Linked DNA regions of Homo sapiens: all the other regions are linked to region 1. The links are contacts of gene promoters, found by promoter capture Hi-C in blood cells and fetal thymus (Javierre and others, 2016). All regions are on one chromosome and are shown on one strand. The core of a region is centred on a gene start or on the middle of the fragment in contact, and the rest is flanking DNA. Distances in the headings are between cores, read along the strand shown.

Region 1 (2,700 bases), core at 7-2,506:
TAAAAATAATATTTCAGCTTTTAAGTAACTCCTTGAGTTTGAATCAAAAGCTGGAAGAACCTCCTGGGCTCTATGAGCACCTCTGAATATGTCTGACTCTACATTCTAGAGGCTTCAATGTATTTATAATTTTGGCTCATAGATTCTCCACATCTTTTCAGCTTCAATTCTTGCTTTTCCCAGAAACAATTTTCAAGCAGGAGAGAATATTGATTGGACTTGATTTTCTCAGTTTGGGCAGAGGTTTGCAGACACTTTGCAGGTTGCCAGACCCTTCGTCCAGCCACCTGTCAGCTGGGGGTCATATGGTATAGAAAGCAGTCATTTCTATGCAAGGTACTGCTTGGGCCTGCCTCCCTCAAAGGGGTAGGGGATGCGGGCTGGACAAAGGGCTCGTGATCAAGTAAAGCACTGTGATGACAGCTGCTATTTCTATATCTCCCTAGACTTGTCTTCTAAATTAAACCTTGACTCCTCCCTTCCAAGCTGGAGCCACTGCTAACTACTGGGAGAGCCTTAGCAGATAAAGTCTCATGCCTCCAGGCGTTTGTGCATCCCATTTTCTCTGCAGAGTAGAATCTCCCTTCTACTTTTGTGCTCCTGGGGACGTCCTACTCTTCTTCCCCAGTTGGCTCTAAGGTTATCACATCGGTGAAGTGTTTCATTATCACTTTTTAGAAGAAACTGAGTCTTTTAGAGAAGTTAAGTGACTTTCTGCATTCATACTCATACTCAAGAAAATCTAACTCCACAATAACCAAAAATAAAAAGTAGAAAAAAACCCACAAGTGATGAGAAAAAAAAAAATCAAAAGTTATAAAAAATAAATGAAAAAATGAAATTAAAGGAAAAAAGATTTTTTAAAAAAGTAAAAAAAAGAAAAGAAATCTAACTCCAGAGCTCTGACACAAAATGCCTTAGGTGTTATTCTCAATGAGAGAAAAGGGACGTGAATCTTTAAGTGATTAAGTGAATCTTTAAGTAAATCTGTCGTACTAGCGTTTCAGGCGGCTCAAACACCACACGCTCCCGACTACGGCGGAATGGAGAGAATGTGCGCATGCTCGGCGGGAATCTGCGCATGCTCGGCGGGAATCTGCGCATGCTCGGAGAGAATCTGCGCATGCTCGGCCGGAATCTGCGCGAGCTCGGCGGGAATCTGCGCAAGCTCGGCGGGAATCTGCGCATGCTCAGAGTTCCGGGGCACGGTTTCCCCGCCCCTTTCAGGCCTAGCAGGAAACGAAGCGGCTCTTTCCGCTATCTGCCGCTTGTCCACCGGAAGCGAGTTGCGACACGGCAGGTTCCCGCCCGGAAGAAGCGACCAAAGCGCCTGAGGACCGGCAACATGGTGCGGTCGGGGAATAAGGTATAAAGAAAGCCATGGACTTGGGCTTTACCCGGACTGGGGATCCGGAGAGGGTGGTTCGGAAGCAGGAATCGTGGGATCGCGGTCAAGACAAAGAATGGGGCAAGAGAAGATCATGGTGGTGGGCTCAGTCAGGAGGGCCGGGACCGAGGGATGCGCTATGAGAAAAGCTGGAGATTTGGGGCTCCAAGACCTGAATTTGAGCCTCGCTGACTCCACCTCTTCCATTACCCACCCATCCCATCCCTCTTCTCCCTCTCTACCTGCTCTTTGTCTCACCTGCCTCCCCACCCGCCTCCCCTCTCTCTCTCTTTATCCCATTCCACTCCCTAGCCCCACTTCCTCTATTACTTCCGAGCCTGGGTTCTTAAGATCTCTATGAGAATGAAAATTAGCTGTGATAAAGCAACTATCCCACAGGGCTTGTTGTAAAACTTAAGAGAGGGACTATCTGTGACTAAAATAACTTAAACTGTAAAGCGTCGTATTATTAGCTTTATAATAACGTAGTATCCCGCATTTATTGAAAGCCCACTCTGTGAGGGACGGATCTAAACCTTTTATTCTTATCTCATTTAATCTTCACAACCCCTTGAAGTGAAAACTATTTATCCCCATTTTGCAAGTGGGAAAACCGAGGAATAAAGAACTGTGGGCTTTTCCTGGTGAAATCCGGATTTGAATCCAAGCTGTCTGGTTTCAGGGCCCTGGAGAACCCCTGTGTTGCTAGAAATCTATGACCATTGGTGTCCCAGATCAGTAACAGAAATTACAATGAATTTTAAAGTGATTTTTTTTTTTCAACATAAAAGAGTGGTAGTTGTCTCTGAAGGGTCACTAGAGGGAGATGTGGTTCCAGGGATTAATGAATTTATTCAATACAGATAAACAAGATACGAGTTTGAGCAACTGATCCCTAGTTCCCTCAACTCCTCATTGAGAAATGTTGATTAAAACGATCATGAACTTTTAATAATGCCACTCACCTCCTTTTTTCGTCCTCTTTCAGCTGCTGAAAACTTTGTAGCTCTAGTGGAGGAGCTGTTTGTTGCAGATGAACTGGAAGTAAAATTCTAACAGCCTGTATTGCTTCGGTATAGAAATGAAGAGTTGCTATGCTACCCGGTTTCTCTTTCTCAGTTTTCTTACTGCTGCCAGATAGGAACTCAGAAATATAGACCATTCTGCTTCCAGACAATAAGTTCCATATTTGAAACCCTTTGATGGCACTTACTGGATACCTAATTCATGACAAAAGTGCTTTAGTCCTCTAGAGTTTTCTGGTTTAAAAGTAGCTTTTGTGGGTGTGTATCAAATAAGTGCAGCAGCATATT
Region 2 (2,963 bases), core at 270-2,769, 2.9 Mb before region 1:
TAGTTTGGAAAGTTACTATGCAACTGTATCGAGCATCCCTTTTTAGTGCTGCTCCTTCTTATAAGCAATTTATCTATATATATATATATGTGAACTAAATATGTACCCAATACTATGTTTCTTCCTCTGCTTAAGTAGTTATTTACTTACATATGAGGACACAAGTTTCAAGAATATGAATACATTGTACAGTCTAAGTGGAAGAGTTGTGGTTTGAACCAGGTCTGCCAGTCAACAGAGCTGGTGCTTCTTAGCACACCACATGAATCATCACAGCATCACAAAATGGGCAATTTAATATTCTATTTTTTCCTACTGCAAAAATATGACCTTTTAGTTAGTGAATAAGCTTCATCTATCTACAGATATTTGCTGCTTTTCATGTGTGATCACATGCAATGTATTTTGAGCTATTTTGGCATCTATAATATATTGCCTAGCAATTTCTGTGAGCAGTTACAGTCGTTACTCAGAACACACAGGGATTGGTTCTAGGACCCCCTGCATATACCAAAATCTGCATATTCAAGTCCTGCAATCAGCAGGCTAAACCCAAGTATATGAAAAGGCAGTGCTTGGTTATGTGTGGGATTTGCATTCTGCATATACTGTATTTTCAATCCTAATTTGGTTGGAAAAAAAATGTGTGTATAAGTGGACCTGCACGGTTCAAACCCATGTTGTTTGAGGTTCAACTGTATTTGTCTTTGAAAGCCATTTGACTAGAATTTTGGCGCTATCTCAGACAAAGATATATTTCTACAGAGTCCAAGAAGGATGGATACAAACAAATGTAAGTTGGCTATAGGACAGCAATCTTGCAGCAGAAAGAGCCAATGTCTGCACAATAGCCATTCCTCCTTTCAACTTTAACAATGTATACTCAAATTTTACTCTGAGCACATAACTCCTTGGAATAATGCCTTCTTTTTGAAACTTGCCATGTATTTAGGGATGGCTATATGTTAGTCATGGACAGTGATTTGCTGGAGCTGGCTTGGCTGGGAGAGTCACTTGTGCACATCTCTCTCCATCACTGTTCAGTGAAGTTGAGTTGGTAGCTTGAAATCAGCCATAGCAGGTATATTTACACAATGAAGATTGGAGGCCTATTTGTCAAATGTTTCCAGCACACTATTGGTTCTGCACAATGAACCAATTGGAAAGTGTTATCCTCTTTAAAAACAAACAAACAAACAAAAAACATCTTGCATGAGTCCCTTGCATCTTCTCCCCTGCATCTTCCTCCACACCTGCTGCTTGGAATGGGGAGGTGATGGATGCTGCTAAAGCAGCGTTCTTATGCCATGAAGCTGAGAGATGACTGGGTTCTTCATGACTTAAAAGAACTGTAGTACCTGTTGACTGCCACATGATGCTGATACTACTGGTCCGTGAACCCTACATTGAGAATGACTGTTACTTTGGGTTTTTTGTTACATGCAGTTGAATCAAATCCTAACTGATAGTGTTAGGAGATTCTGGTGAACTAGAAAAAAAAGACCTCATCTGAAGGCATTCATATTCAAGTTTTTAAAATACTGAGCTGGCCAACGATGTATATCTCCTGACTTTATTAAGCAGTAGAACAGAGAGGAAGGAAGGAATTGCAACCTTGGTGCCAACCTATGGTGGCACTCTACTGCTAGACATTGATGTCCCAGGACCTCACCCCACCTGCAGGATGCACATAGAAGGAATAAAGGAGAAGAAAATAATGAGTAAATAAATGGAAAGTGATAAAGGGGTAGGTATTAGGAAAATAAGATTACATTGTGACCAGTATGTAGATTAAAGCAGACAGTCAGTGCACTGCCATAGCTTGCTTGAATTTTTTACATTCCCAGGCTCTCTGTCTCCACGTGTGTTTTTATTCTCACATTGACAGCACTGTGTCTTTTTATTGCAGGGATGGCCCCTGACTGCCGGAATCTACTTTTTTCCACTGTGGTAGAAGTATTTGGGGACTTATATCCTTCCAGGAGTAGTTCTTATCCAATCACTGATAGGTTCAGGGGTTTAAATATTTCAGCCATTGTGGCTTGATCAGGATAAGTCTGAGGTGTGATCCACACTGTTTAGAGATATCCTCTATGGGACAGAGACAAAGTTACCCTCCATGAAACTTTGCTTTATAATATACCCCTCCTTAGCCTTCTTACCTTACTAGTCCTATTTCCTTGCTACACACCCCATGCCCCTGATTTTCCTGGGAAAATTTTCTATTAATCGTGTTCACATGAGTCATCTTCCGAGAGTCTGTTTCTGGGGAATACAACTTAAGGCAGAGATATAACAATAAGAATTTTAATCTTCTTCCCAGAAAGCAATGGGAAGAATAAAGGGAAGATCAGTCATCCTGTTCTATCTTCTTAAATTTGAGCTTTCTCCACTGACATGTCTCAGATGTGCTTGGGAGGAAAATCAACTCATTTTGGACATCCAGATTCATTCAGGAAATTGGCAATATATATCTGGACTACAGGAAAGAGGTCAGAGCCAGAGATATATTAAATTAAAACAAGCTGGGTTGTAAACTCATAGTGTATGAGAGTTATGCTGATTTACTTTTCTATGAACTACTTGCCCATCCTCACCTAATTTTAAAATTCAGTACAGCTGTGATTTTCATCAAATGTTTATGATCCTATTATAGGATATATTTTTAGCCTTAATAAAAGGAAGTTGATAAAGCTTCATTATCTGTCGTTTCAGAGGAAGAGTAAAAAATCCAACATCTACCAAGTAAGTCTATAATATGTCATCGTAAATCTTCTATTTCCCAAGCCTTTGTCTCTCTCTGACATCAAAGATAAATGACTATTACTAGAATTAATATCTCTTAAATATATCATGATTCTTCAACATTATTACCAAAAGGCTGTTATGAAAACTTCACTAAAATAGAATTTGATTTTCTTTCTATGAACTGTAAGGGTGACTGATTTTTTAGTACTTGTAGT
Region 3 (2,935 bases), core at 117-2,616, 2.6 Mb after region 1:
TGGTTTTGATCTCCTGACCTCGTGATCCACCTGCCTCAGCCTCCCAAAGTGTTGGGATTACAGGCGTGAGCCTGTCAGTTCTATCTTCTAACATAACTGTTGAGCAGTTGAGGTAATCTCATCAGAGATCTTGTGGACTGTAGACTGAACCATTTCTGATGTCCTGAGTTTCCCTGGTGACCGAGGGAAACACCTAGTTGAAGGAGGAAAGGGAAACTGCATTTCCCAAGAGCCACACTCTCTTGTAGGAGAGTGATTTAATTAGTGGGTAATGAATAATTGCTTTCTCTAGAAATAGATACCTTGTCCAAGTTGGTCTGGGCCTGGTCCCTGGAGACTTGTTGGTTTGCGACAGCAGCAATAGATTTTCTTTTCTTTTTTTTTTTTCTTTTGAGACGCAGTTTCACTCTTGTTGCCCAGGCTGGAGTGCAATGGCGCAATCTCGGCTCACCGCAACCTCTGCCTCCCAGGTTCAAGCGATTCTCCTGCCTCCACCTCCCAAGTAGCTGGGATTACAGGCATGCACCACCATGCCTGGCTAGTTTTGTATTTTTAGTAGAAATGGGGTTTCTCCATGTTGCTCAGGCTGGTTTCGAACTCTCGACCTCAGGTGATCTGCCCACCTCGGCCTCCCAAAGTACTGGGATTTCAGGCATGAACCACTGCGCCCGGCCAGCAATAGATTTTCTAACATAGGCTACTAATCATTCACACTCCTTTAAGGAGGAAACTTGAGGCAAAATCACCCCATAAAGATTGGAGGACAGAACTGTATAGGCAGTTTCCAAATGCTGCATGAAGATGACAAAGTAGGATGTTCAGATTCCTGAGAATGGGTGTTTTAAAGGGGAGAGTCTGGAGCCAGGGACATCAGTCAGGCTGCTTACCTTAACAGTCCTGCACTTGGTGTTAGAGGGGTTGGAGACTGGGCTGAGGCAGCCATGCAAATAGAAGGGGATGTTTCAGGCCATTTTGTTGATCCATACAACTTTCTGCAGTTTTTTATTCTTCACTCTTACCCCTTTATTCAAGTTTTATTTTTATTTTTAACAGTTTTGTGGAGGTATAATTCACATTGAACATATCCATCGTTTCTAAGTCAATTTTTTAAAAACTTTTGTTCTAGGAAGACTTAGTGTTCCATAAAGTTGTTGGGGGAGGAGACTTGGGCAATATTGCTAATAGGAGGCCAAACTGGACCAGGGTTCTTCCCACCCCCTTCTGCCAGCGTGGCTCTGTATTTGAGGTTAAAGATCCCCAGAGATTTCCTATAAAAGCCATCATGAAGCTTATAGGGCATATCACTAGGGTAAGTGAACAGTGGTGTGAGATAGCCTTGGGAAAGTATCACGTGAGAGGGACACACAACAGGTGCTCGTGGAGAGGGTGGGTCTTGAGCTGGGTCTGGAAAAGGTAAATAAAATATGGTAAGGATTCACAAGGAAGAAGCTTAGTGGAGTAAAGCCCTGCAGACAGGCATTTGAAAGGTTTATTCCAGGAATTTAGTGTAAGACCAGCGCAGTTCACATAACAGAGTTCAAGGTAGGAGGAAATGGAAATAAGCCTTAAAAAAAAAAAAAAAAAGATTAAGGGTCGACTATGGAGTCTTGTGGACCAAAGCTAAGAAATCTCACATGACAGTCATCTGGAATGCTTGTTAAAACTGCAGACTCATGGCCCTACTCCACACCAACTGAATCCTCTTGAAGGTGAATCTCAGGACTTTGCATCTCAGGTTATTCTGATGCAGGTGGGCCACCACAGTGTTTAGTAAGTGCTCATGGACCGTTTTTGAAAAGGGATTGACCTGATGAAGCAATACAGCAAAATTAATCTGGAGGTTGCCTGCAGGGTGGAATTAGGAAGGGCACACCTTGGAGACACATGCTTCAGTCAGTGCTGTTGCAGTAAGTCCAGATCTAGGGGCATGGTGGAAATAATAAAAGGAGGAAGAATGCTAAGTAGACAGAGTGTCTTAAATTTCATGACTGGTTTCCCTTTGGGGAAATAAAGTAAAGGAAAAAGTCAGAAATAACTTAGTTTTCCTCTTAGGTGATTTGGAGAAAGAAGGGTCCACTCAAGGAAATGGGACGATCAGGAGTGGAGAGCTAGTTTGACACACTAGATTGAAGTGGTTGGACATGCATTTGGAAAGGTGGAACAGGCAGTTGGTGATGCAGACATGAAACTTGAGACGACAAATCTGCAAAATGACTCTTCTGCAGATAATAGTTGACATTGTGAGAGAGATTGATTTGATGTGGGGGAGGATGAAAGAACTGGAGGATTTTGGATTGGCCTCAGGAGGAGGAAAGACACTATTGAAGGGGTTGGGTACAGCTGTGGCAGAGTGCACGCACTGAGTAAAAAATAGCAACAAGGAGATGGTGGTAAGAGGGGAACGCCTTTTTCATATGAATAGGTCCAACTCGTGGCTTTGCTGATGTGATATTGTGATATAATAAGAAATACTCCAGCCTGGTCAGCATGGTGAAACCCTGTCTCTACAAAAATACAAAAATTATCCGGGCACGATGGCGGGTGCCTGTAATCCCGGCTATTCGGGAGGCTGAGGCGGGAGAATTGCATGAACGCGGGAGGCAGAGGTTGCAGCGAGCCGAGATCGTACCATTGCACTCCAGCCTGGGCAACACAGTGAGACTCCGGTCTCAAAAAAAAAAAAAAAAAGAAAGAAATACATAATTGGGGTGTGCCCCTGGTTCCTGGCTCCTAAAACCTTCAGAACTTGTAAGTGATAAGTGTCTTTTTATATGCTAATGAGATGATTGATAGCTGGGGACTCCTGAATAGCCTCAAGATGGGAGGCTGATTGCCGAGAGAACCAACCATGTGATTAGAGGGTTGGAACTTTCAGTTCCATCCCCCACCTTCTGGGAAGGGGAGTGGAGCCAAAGATTGAGCTGACTACCAATGG
Region 4 (2,700 bases), core at 34-2,533, 2.6 Mb after region 1:
GCAGACATACTGTGAATCCTGGTCCTCTGCAGTGGCAGGATGCAAAGTGATGTAGATCTCCCATGGTGAAGTTCTGCAGGTGGATCAAGTGGACACGCAGATGTGACTGGGTAGGGGCTTGGGGGCTGGGGAGGATGGGGCTGAGACAGTGAAGTGGGCAAAGGAAGTACACATTGGACTCTTTCTTTTGGGGTAGGATTAAAGGAATAGCTTTTGTCTACACAAGAGAAATATTATCTCTGAATCAAGGCTCACAATGTCTTAAGACCCAAATTCAGCATAGAACCTCTCCTCATTACTAGGGGGACTCCTGCCCACCACTGGTTGAATACATACCTGCCATTTCCTTTAATCACCTGTAGTTCATCTAGATAGATGGACTCCAATACTTCAACTTCAGAGGGAAGGACCCTAGAGAGACAGGAGTAGACTAACTTACCATTACAGCTCTCCCTGTGGAAGCCTGCTAAGGCCAATAAAGGCAGGCTTTGTAGAAAAATGGCAATCTACCAGAATGCATTCTCCTGCTAAACTCCTTAAAAACAAGGAATATGTTACCTTAAGTTGTCAACTGGCCAAATAGAAGGCATGGAAATCAGAATTTTAGGCATCATTTCTGCCAACAGATGAAGAAGTGGATTCTAGAGAAGTAAAATGACTAACCAAGGCTTAACATAGGTAGAACTAGGCCCAGAGCCAGGTTTCCTGACTCCCTGTTTAAGTTTCATTCCCCTTAGTGGCTGAATCTCTGGTCTAGAGATATGGCACTCATTCATTAGCATTAACGTTACCAATATTACTCCAACCTTTCCCTACGTCACTGTCCAGTGTGGATCCCAGTGCCTTGGCTACTGTCTACATACAGTTTTAACACCAGTCACCCTAAGCCTTCTTAAAGGAGATAGCAACCTCAACACAACATATTTAGGGTGGTATAAAGGCTGTGTTGTAATGGAAGAGCCAGCAGCCTCGGAGTTAGTTAACAGGTACCAATCACTTACAAGCTATGCAATCTGGGACGTGACCTCTCTGTAAGCTTAAGTTATCCTGTCTGTCACATATAGATAATAACACCTACTCTCTAGGGTTATTGTGAGGATAAAAGGTGATTTGTTTACATAAAGTACCTAATAGTATCTGGGCTATCGTAGCTAGTCTACGTCCTCTTTTTTTCCTGTCTGTATATAACCTTCTCCCTTAGAAGGAAAGAGGGAAGGAAGGAGGTAATAGAGTACTCTGGATGTATTTATGACCTGGCTGTCTGGTTGATCTAGATCAGCCTGTTGAGGTTAGGATCCATGGTTCTGATGTAAATCAAGGGACACACATACTTAAGCATAGAAACAGCAGTTGTAATGAAATTGAAGCTGAGTGATCAGTTTGTGTCTACAGCTCTACCAAGTGATACATGGAAAAATGCACACTTTGCTTTCTCACACTGCTCCCTCTTCATTCTAAGAGTAAGGCTGCCCCAGCACGACCTATGTCAGTGTTGTTAAGTCTTAGGCAGAAACTTCAAAATATAAAATATAAAGCTTCACACCTCACAGATAACAGTGTAGTTCTGGCTGACATGGGAGTGGGAGTCTCACAGTACTACAGGCTGCTGCACTCATTGTTGCTGTCTCCATGGCTCAAGGTGTCTCCCCTGAATCTTAAAAGTTCCCCTGAACAGGTAAACTGTAAGTTATCCCAGCGCTTTGGGAGGCTGAGGTGGGAGGATCACTTGAGGCCAGGAGTTCGAGACCAGCCTGGGCAACAAAGCGAGACACTATCTCTACAAAAAATAAAAAATTAACTGGACACGGTGGTCCCAGCTACTTGGGAGACTGAGGCAGAAGAATCACGGGAGCCCAGGAGGTCGAGGCTGTAGTGAGCCATGATCTTGCCACTGTACTCCAGCCTGGGTGACAAAGTAAGACTCTGTCTCTTAAAAAAAAAAAAAAAAAAGAAGTTTCCCTGAACACTTTGAAAACCAGTAGTCTAGATACTCTTAATAACGGCCAGTACTAGCTGGGCTCCCTGAACCAATGTAACATTGAGGTGTAGCCTCAGTCAAGTGGCCCTTCAATACTTCGCCCACCCTAGTTATATGGGTCCTGGATGGGATGGTGGTAAGGTGGTGACAACAAAATGGGGGAGGGGGGCCGGGCGCGGTGGCTCAGGCCTGTAATCCCAGCACTTTGGGAGGCTGAGGCGGGTGGATCATGAAGTCAGGAGATAGAGACCATCCTGGCTAACAGGGTGAAACCCCGTCTCTACTAAAAATCACAAAAAATTAGCTGGGTGTGGTGGCGGGCGCCTGTAGTCCCAGCTACTCGGGAGGCTGAGGCAGGAGAATGGCATGAACCCGGGAGGCGGAGCTTGCAGTGAACCGAGATTGCGCCACTGCACTCCAGCCTGGGCGACAGAGCAAGACTCCGTCTCAAAAAAAAAAAAAAAAAAAAAAAAAATTGGGGGAGTGGGGACTGAAGAATGTCCTAGTACAAAGAATCTAAGGTGTGGAGTCAGACAGATATGGATTTCTATTCATAATTTTCTATCTTTTGGCAAATCACTTTACTTCTTTGGGACTCATCTAGTCTTCCCAGGTGCCTGCACCTCAGTTATTAATGAAAAGGAGGCCGGGTGTGGTGGCTCACGCCTGTAATTCCAGCACCTTGGGAGGCTGAGGTGGGAGGATCACTTGAACCCAGGGGT
Region 5 (2,700 bases), core at 102-2,601, 2.9 Mb before region 1:
TATATTTGGTCAAGAAAATATACTATTGAAGTGATGCAACACTTCATCACTTTTCCCCCCATCTGACCTGTTTGCCTTGTTGCAACAACATTTTCAGTTTTATACCCGCAGACCATCATCCCATGCGTAGACCCTGATATTTGAAGTCAATGTTATTTCAACAACTGCATGGTTCGCGAAGGCTAGGGCGGGACGTGGAGACCCTACAAAACACTGGCTGTATGATGAGGAGAGATTCAGCAGCAAGTGGAGACCAGGTAGATAGGCAAATCTCAGAATCAAGAGGGTTTTGGCAAGAAACATTAGCCAGAAATCTATGCAGTGTAAGAGTCAAAGGGAAGAAGGTAGCTATGGACATTGGGGCTTAGAAGAAAATCTGAAGTATTAAGCAAGTGTTAGAAGAATAAGTCTGCATCTTAGTCCTAGAGCAACTACAATCCTGGATGAGAACCAAAGCAGAAGTATGGGCAGAAAGGCAGAGACCAGAATCCTCGACCAGGAGTGGGGACAAAATATCTGGTCTTAAGTGTCAAGAAGCTAAGTTTTAGAAGCTGGGTTTAAGGTCAGAATGAGACTTGATTCTGAGCTTACTCCTGGGATTCTTACAATCTTCCTGTCTAGCACCAAAGATCTGTTCCAATATCAGATACTAGAAGTCAGAGAATTTAGTTGACCTGTTCAAGATCACAAGCTAATTAGTGCTGGGGACAAAATTAGATTCCAAGTTTTCAATTCTCACACCAGGGCTCATTAGAACATGATCTGAATGAATCAGAAATGCAGATAGATATATTTAATTGTTTTTGATATGTTCATTTGTCACTACTGTTTCATAACTGCAAAGAGAATTAAAAATTTAGATCAGATTATGGAACAGATAAATTGAAGTAATTCATAGACCTATCTTGTAAAATATATATACATTTGTCTTGCAAAGGCTCAGAATTGACTGATTTTTCTGATTATTATTTATACATCTCAATGAGTTGAATATAGATGGATTCATTATAGATGGTTAATAATTATGTGATTTTCAGGTCAGAAAATTCCATTACCAGCAAATTGCTGAATAAGACATAATTTCATATATTCATCTTACTGATAGGTTTTTCTTTTTCTTTCTTTCATTATACAAAGTTGATATTAAAGAATTCTGGAGATTTTGTGTCTTGGTTTAAACTTTATTGATCTTTTATTGCCTTTATTTACGAAGTCTTTGAATTAAAAGTCTATATGGGATAAATTCTTATATTATTTGAAAATCAACCATTATCTAAAGTTATTTATGCTTTATCCAGTCATAATTAAATTTATAATTTTATGTTCTGTTTTTGTCTTATAACCTTTAAAGTTAGCATCATAGACCCTTTTTTCATACTGGAAATCGCCAACTGTTGTTTTCATTCTTGAAATTATTGCACTTCAGTCTTGCAGAATTGATATAAAGGAACTAATTTTTTGCATTAATCAAAACATAAAAACCAGTAATATTTCAGGATTGTACAAAATTTATCAGATAGTGGTACCAGCTGATGAACTGTAGTATTACAGCCCAGCTGCCTTAGATATCTCTGGGTTTTGTTTGTTTTTAAGCAGAATTGATTTTTTAAACTGTTGAATCATTGAGCTTTCTGGCCTTCATGGGTCCAGGACATTGATATTACAGTTTCATTTTACTACACAGAACCACACTGAAGAATTAAGGTGAACCTTAGACGGAGGTAGAAACTAACCTCTGAAAATCAAAGTGCTTACAGGAAGCTGCAGGTGTGGGGAGTGGGAGGAGAATGTGCCAAGGCAAGGGGAAGGGAGAGGTTTTTGAGGGAATTTCCGCCACTGAGAATATGAAGTCAGACAATTCACAGTAATAGGAGTTTTTTTGCTTTTTTTTACAAACCAAAAACAGGGAAGAAAAGAAAAGGTCAAAAATAAATGGCACGTCCAGAGACTGGGAAAGAGCTAGAAAGACGACAAAATATTACGTGATGATATCTATTAAATATATCCAAGTTGAAGTCTACACCCTTGCTACTGAAAGTGTGGCACAAGAACTAGCAACATCAGCACCAGATGGGAACTTGTCAGAAACGCAGACTCCTGGGCCCCAACCTAGAAAGATCAAACCAAGATCTGCATTTTGACAATAGCCTCCAGGCTGGTAGAATGCACATTCAGATTTGAGAGTAAAGTTTGGGGAACCTTTTTTTTTTTTTTTTAACATCAACATGAATAGAAATATACATTTAAAGTTATCAAAATTACTAGGAAATTTTTATTTAATGTTCAAATTTCACATTTTAAAATGATGAATAAATATTAGAAATCTTATCAAAATCTGTTTTACTTCTCTCAATTTTCTTCTTATAAAATTATCAAGGTATTTATAAAGCATGTTTAGTTAAAAGCACCCCATTATGTGTTTTATCATATTAAAACATTTTAATTTTTAATTGATTAAAATGAACTATGAGCCTGCTCTCTAAGTTGAAATTACATTTCTTCCTAAGTTTTGTGGCTGGATGATGCTGTTCTTTTACAACATTATTTTAAATAAATGTGTGAATACAAAGCACTGAGCTTGTTTTAAATACTCTACAAACCTGACAATGTTCTTTTTCTTGATCTGGTTACACGAGTGTGTTCAGTTTGTGTGTTAATTAATCAAGCTCTATGTTCATGATATATATACAATTTTGTGAG
Region 6 (2,781 bases), core at 205-2,704, 3.0 Mb before region 1:
AGATCTCATGACCACCTGGGAGAATTGGACCATCTTGGCAAATGTTTCCCTCTTTTTAACATCCTACATTCCTTTCTTATTTGCAGGTTATGGTGTATCTAACTCATCCAGAGAAATCAAGATTATGTTTTCATACCAAGATTGGGGGTTTTATTTCATGCCTGTGGAGTCTATAGTCCTAAGATTCACAATGCAATCCACTCATGGGAAAGAACCCTTGCATAAACTGTAATTCACTTTGTTCAGAATTTCTCTGGGTAGTTTTGTTTGTTTGTTCGTTTTGGTTTTGTTTTTGTTGAGACAGAGTCTCACTCTGTCACCCAGGCTGGAGTGCAGTGGCGCCGTCTCGGCTCACTACAATCTCTGCTTCCTGGGTTCATGCGATTCTCCTGCCTCAGCCTTCTGAGTAGCTGGGATCACAGGCGCCCACCACCACACCTGGCTAATTTTTGTATTTTTTAGTAGAGACAGGGTTTCACCATGCTGGCCAGGGTGGCCTCGAACTCCTGACCTCAGGTGATCTCCCAAAGTGCTGGGTCTCCCAAAGTGCTGGGATTACAGGCGTGAGCAATTGCGCCTGGCCTCTCTGGGTAGTATTTTGATAGTTAGAGGGTGCATTTATTTCTGTCCTTTGCCAGAAGACATAGACTGTACACATTTTTTTAAGGTACTTATATAACTATACTGTACATTAAAATATACCACTAGGGAAGTGGAGTACCATGTTCTTTGGCCACTGTATCCAGTTTGGAGAGTTAAGTTTTTACTTTAGGGAAGAAGTGGCAGGGTGGGGAGGAAACAGACCCCTCAGCCCTTACCATTTTTCACGTAGCTGGTTCTTTCTCATCCTTTCTGTCCCATCCTACCCAAACATTTTCCTGCACCAACTTCTATTGTAGCACCTTGAATATTTCCTTCATAACATTGTTTTCTCAGAAGTAGAATAGTATTTGGTACAAGTTGGTACTCAATAAACATTTATTAAATGAATGAATATGGAGGAAATGATGTACTCAGCTGGCTTTCATGTATTAAACTCTATTTTCAAAGGACGAAAAGGGTCCCATTTCCAAGATACATGCTGATTTCATAAAGAATTTGGTCAGATCTTGGCTCATAAGTCATATTACAAATATCTTTAACAGGTCAGCTCTGGCTTACAAGCCACACAAAGGATCTGAACCTCTTGGTAGATAACAGTTATATTTACAAAATGTATATAAAATAAAATGTTACATAAATTAAAAATAAAATTATATATAAATATATATTTTTAACATTTATATATTAATTTTGCAAATATAAATATGAAAAGTGGCTAACATTGTATATAAAATGCAATTTGGAATAAAATACATTTATGTAATGCCTCTGTTTCAAAAATGAATTATTTCCTGTTACCACCTGACAATTCATGAACCAGGGTGACTATCAAGAAATGCAGCAGGTTTAATTTTGTAATCACTAAGTGTAATCAGCAAAAGAAAAATTTTACAAGGCAATATAGCTAAAAGGTACATTGTGGAGTATTGGTTTTGTTTTCTTTGGGTAGTTTGTTTTATCTATTTTAGATTTAAAAGCCCTAAGTACCCTTTAAAGGAATTTGGGTAAAATCCCCTTTTGTTTGCTCAAGGAATTAATTGTACGTTTTTAAGTTTTGGGGGTCTTTTTAGCAGAAGGTGGGAGGGGACAATTTGGAAAATTATAATTCTTTCCTAAAATCAAAGAAGAAATTTTTGGAAATGAATTCTATATTTTTTTATTTAAATGGCTTTATTGTGCTAGATATATAATCAACCAGAATAGGTACCCTAAAATAACTTGAATCCCTGAAAAAGTTAAGAATAACAGGCACACATAAGCACAATGTTTTAAAACCGATAACTTCTTTTATTTTTGTCAGGTGATGTTGTTCTTGTCTTTGAAGTAGTGTTCTCTTTTTAAGCGGGATATGGAACAATGGTCTCACTTACTCCTGTTGACCTAGATTGGCACTATGAAGAAGCAAGAAAGCCAAAAATGGAACTACCTTTTCAAAGAAAATATTCTAAGATACCAAATCCAGTTCATAAGTAAAGCATATAAATACTGTCAAACTTTACTTCCCTGAGTGCACTGATAGTCTGGGGTCTATTCAGCTGGCATATAAGTCCCACATGCTGAGGGTCTTCTAATTCCATCTACCTTGAACAATAGTTTCTTTTAACAGTCTTAAGAGTGTCACTTTGCAATTAGAGATAAGGCTCTTATGCAAATACTCATGTCCCTAAAAAAGGTAACATTATGACTTAAATTCACACGTTGATAGAATACTATCAGATTTCTTCCAGAGAGAGTGTTTTGCTGTAGAGCAGGTGATAAGCTAACTCTATCCCAAATGAGAATGATAAATTACGGGAGTTAAACCAGTGGGGTGAGGACCAGAGAGGTTCCTGAAAAAAATGAAAGCACACATTTTTAAAGATGTCATTAAAACCCACCATAATTGCTTTTAAAATGCAGATTTGTTCAGCATTTGATAAAATGAGTTCCATTAATGCAAAAACAAGGGAATTTTGAACTGGGTCAAGTGGTGATGCTCAAAGTCAACTCTAAAAAGGATTGAGAAGAAACCCTAAAATTTTAGAGCACAAAAAGTACAGGGAAGTTATTGGAATCCTCAATGAAGTGTTAATTCAAGAAATGAAAAAGATATGATTCAACTTTGTAAAGAAATAACTTACCAAAAGAGGGTAACAAAGGAGAAGACGCCTGGTGAGCATTAATTTAGATACAGGACAA
Region 7 (2,923 bases), core at 172-2,671, 2.5 Mb after region 1:
ATTAACAGTTTGTTGAGGGTTGCAAAATAGGGGTTGGCCAAGAACCATGGGGAATCAGAGATCCCTGGTAATAGAGAGAGTTATGAAAGTCCCTTAGAAAGTTCTCTAAAGAACTTGTTCTTTGCCTATTCCATGGGCCAGAGCAGTTTCTTAGTGCACCAGAGTGCTACGTTGGTAAGAAAACCTACTTCTAGTTCTGCCTGTGCCATTAACTAGCTACGGGACCTGGAGCCACAACTTCCAGATCTGTGATACGAGAGAGTTTAGGGTTTCCCAGACTTGCCTGTGTACCAAGTGTACTTGTTAAAAATAAATATATTATTGAGCCCCACCCTGGGTAACTCTGATCTGGTAGATTTTTGGGTAGGGCTAAGGATCTCAATTTCAAGACATTCCAGAGGCTATTGATGTAGCTGGGAATGTCTGGATTAGATGTGTTATAAAAGAACTGGCCGGGCGCGGTGGCTCACACCTGTAATCCCAGCACTTTGGGAGGCCGAGGCGGGTGGATCACGAGGTCAGGAGATTGAGACCATCCTGGCTAACATGGTGAAACCCCGTCTCTACTGAAAATACAAAAAATTAGCCGGGCGAGGTGGGTGGCGGGTGCCTGTAGTCCCAGCTACTCGGGAGGCTGAGGCAGGAGAATAGCGTGAACCCCGGGGGGCGGAGCCTGCAGTGAGCCAAGATCGCACCACTGCACTCCAGCCTGGGCGACAGCGAGACTCTGTCTCAAAAAAAAAAAAAAAAAGAACCTTCAAGCTCCAACATTCTGTGACCTGTGACCAGAGCCAATTTGTCCTCTATATGAACCAGGTTAGGCATAATCCTTCTCAGAAGCAAGGGAGTAGACAAAATGATTCTCTTCTTTCTTGCCCCTCAGAGAGACCTGAGACACCCTGAATCCCACTGTAATCTCCTTGGTGCCATTGGTAACTCTGCCAAAGTCCATCTCTAGGTGACATGAAGTCTCTTAGAAATTGAGGACCAAATTGCGCTCTGCAGCTCTGGGCTACTTCCCATCTCATTTTGTGTCCCTATTTTCGTATCTGTATTAGAGAGGTAATTACCATATCATTGAAGATCTCCATATATGTGTCTATGAGTTAATATTTAAGACCAACCTTTCTTATTATCAGATGTCATCCTCTGTGTTTTTCCCAGTGCCCTCACTCCCAAACCCTTTGTTCCTTCTCTTCTCATTGCACCTGCATCAGCTGTGGGCATCCTTCCCATTCTACCATTAGACACCAGAGGAAACAGCAAGACCTAGAATACCTAGGTTCTAACTCACATTGTCTGGGCAGTTTGTTTGGTCAATCTCCTAGGATACAGAGAAAAGTGAGGCTGAGCAGAGGGACACGCATGCTACTGAGTTCTGAACCCAAGTGTCCTCCCTTCTGGACCACAGTCTCAAAATTCTCAAAGGAGATGAGACTCAGAGCCATTGCGAATTAGTGGAGTCAAAAGAGGGAACCAACTGGAAGAGGTGATGGGGAGAAGGGATGAGGAGAAGGAAGAGAAGAGGAGAGACTGACCTAGGTGAGCAAACAGGAAGACAGAGGATTAAGAGAGAGAGAGAGGTGGGGATGGGGCTGGGCATGATGGCTCACGCCTGTAATCCCAGCACTTTGGGAAGCCCAGGCAGGAGGATTGCTTGAGGCCAGGAGTTTAAAACTAGGGCTACACAGGGAGACCCCATCTCCATACAAAACAAATAATAATTTAAAAAAAATTTTTTTTATAGTGAACTGGGAAGAAAGGAAAAGGACCAGGTCAGGCATGGGATAGGGAAAGGAAAGAAAATGAGATGAAAGAGGCTGGGCATGGTGGCTCACCCCTGTAACCCCAGCACTTAGGGAGGCTGAGGCGGGTGGATCATCTGAGGTCAGGAGTTTGAGACCAGCCTGGCCAACATAGTGAAACCCCGTCTCTACTAAAAATAAAAAAAATTAGCCAGGCGTGGTGGCACACACCTGTAATCCCAGCTACTTGGGAGGCTGAGGCAGGAGAATCACTTGAACCCAGGAGGCGGAGGTTGCAGTGAGCCAACATCATGCCACTGCACTCCAGCCTGGGCGACAGAGTGACACTCCGTCTCAAAAAAAAATAAATAAATAGAAATAAAGAAAATGAGACCAAAGAAAAGCAAGACTATTCAGAGTACAGAGGGAACAGAAAGTGATGGAGAGGAGAGACAAAATACCAATGTCCCTTATTGATTCCTAGCCTTGCTTCAACTGTTTTCTAGAGAAGGCCCTTTCCAAGAGCAGAGTCATTGTGAGATCCTTGAGCTGGTTGTATGGAGACCTGGGTTCTTTTTTTTTTCCTCCTGCCCAAGACAGAGTTTTGCTTTTGTTGCCCAGGCTGCAGTGCAATGGCGCCATCTCGGCTCACTGCAGCCTCCGCCTCCTGGGTTCAAGCAATTCTCCTGCCTCAGCCTCCCAAGTAGCGGAGATTATAGGTGTGCACCACTACTCCCAGCTAATTTTTGTATTTTTAGTAGAGAAGGGGTTTCACCATGTCGGTCAGGCTGGTCTCGAACTCCTGGCCTTACATGATCTGCCCATCTCAGCCCCCCAAAGTGCTGGGATTACAGATGTGAGCTACCGTGCCCGGCCAGAGACCTTGGTTCTAATTCCAGTTCTGTCACTCATTAAATGACTCTGGCACTAATTCTTTTTACTTCACCTAACCTTTCTAGTCCTCGGGCTCCTTTTCTATAAAATGAAGTCCAGCTCTGACCTTCTATGGCTCCCTGATTTGAAACTGGCCCTCTTATGACCACATGTCAGTCATGTGAATACAGATTTAAAATAGTGATTCATGAATGGGAGAAGGATTGGAAGAACAAAGCCAAGCTTTGGGGTTAGAAGAATTGGACAAAGGAGGAAAAAATAATTTTCTAAGGCAGGTTTGAGAG

Evidence for each region. The method cuts DNA at HindIII sites, captures the fragments that hold promoters and counts their contacts. A CHiCAGO score of 5 or more calls a contact.
Region 2: a contact is called between a fragment that was not itself captured here and the fragment with the promoter of XRCC5 in region 1, in 1 of 17 cell types (total B cells). The highest score is 7.8, in total B cells.
Region 3: a fragment that was not itself captured here is called in contact with the fragment with the promoter of XRCC5 in region 1 in 1 of 17 cell types (neutrophils); the score reaches 5.2 in neutrophils.
Region 4: a fragment that was not itself captured here is called in contact with the fragment with the promoter of XRCC5 in region 1 in 1 of 17 cell types (neutrophils); the score reaches 5.6 in neutrophils.
Region 5: a contact is called between a fragment that was not itself captured here and the fragment with the promoter of XRCC5 in region 1, in 1 of 17 cell types (naive CD8 T cells). The highest score is 7.2, in naive CD8 T cells.
Region 6: a contact is called between a fragment that was not itself captured here and the fragment with the promoter of XRCC5 in region 1, in 1 of 17 cell types (fetal thymus). The highest score is 6.7, in fetal thymus.
Region 7: a contact is called between a fragment that was not itself captured here and the fragment with the promoter of XRCC5 in region 1, in 1 of 17 cell types (neutrophils). The highest score is 5.2, in neutrophils.

Annotation. Positions count from the first base shown.
Region 1 is chr2:216,108,092-216,110,791 of GRCh38, forward strand. It overlaps XRCC5 (X-ray repair cross complementing 5), which reads left to right and starts at 1,257. Exons shown (of 21, transcript NM_021141.4): 1 at 1,257-1,366. The coding sequence starts at 1,346. RefSeq lists an enhancer at 981-1,602. The HindIII fragment of the contact is 16,954 bases long and covers 1-2,700 here.
Region 2 is chr2:213,219,789-213,222,751 of GRCh38, forward strand. No RefSeq gene overlaps it. Among named protein-coding and RNA genes, the nearest start is that of LINC01953, 54 kb to the left of the region's middle. The HindIII fragment of the contact is 2,345 bases long and covers 348-2,692 here.
Region 3 is chr2:218,718,004-218,720,938 of GRCh38, forward strand. All of the region lies in intron 1 of TTLL4 (tubulin tyrosine ligase like 4), which reads left to right. Among named protein-coding and RNA genes, the nearest start is that of TTLL4, 8.6 kb to the left of the region's middle. RefSeq lists a silencer at 1,563-1,860. The HindIII fragment of the contact is 161 bases long and covers 1,287-1,447 here.
Region 4 is chr2:218,668,269-218,670,968 of GRCh38, forward strand. RNF25 (ring finger protein 25) reads right to left here. Exons shown (of 10, transcript NM_022453.3): 2 at 337-411; 3 at 1-73. Among named protein-coding and RNA genes, the nearest start is that of RNF25, 2.4 kb to the right of the region's middle. The HindIII fragment of the contact is 499 bases long and covers 1,035-1,533 here.
Region 5 is chr2:213,241,784-213,244,483 of GRCh38, forward strand. No RefSeq gene overlaps it. Among named protein-coding and RNA genes, the nearest start is that of SPAG16-DT, 41 kb to the right of the region's middle. The HindIII fragment of the contact is 4,627 bases long and covers 1-2,700 here.
Region 6 is chr2:213,153,937-213,156,717 of GRCh38, forward strand. It overlaps LINC01953 (long intergenic non-protein coding RNA 1953), which reads right to left. Exons shown (of 4, transcript NR_146974.1): 4 at 1,880-1,994. Among named protein-coding and RNA genes, the nearest start is that of IKZF2, 3.7 kb to the left of the region's middle. The HindIII fragment of the contact is 3,234 bases long and covers 1-2,781 here.
Region 7 is chr2:218,608,407-218,611,329 of GRCh38, forward strand. The region is part of intron 1 of PLCD4 (phospholipase C delta 4); the gene reads left to right. Among named protein-coding and RNA genes, the nearest start is that of PLCD4, 2.0 kb to the left of the region's middle. The HindIII fragment of the contact is 2,876 bases long and covers 1-2,859 here.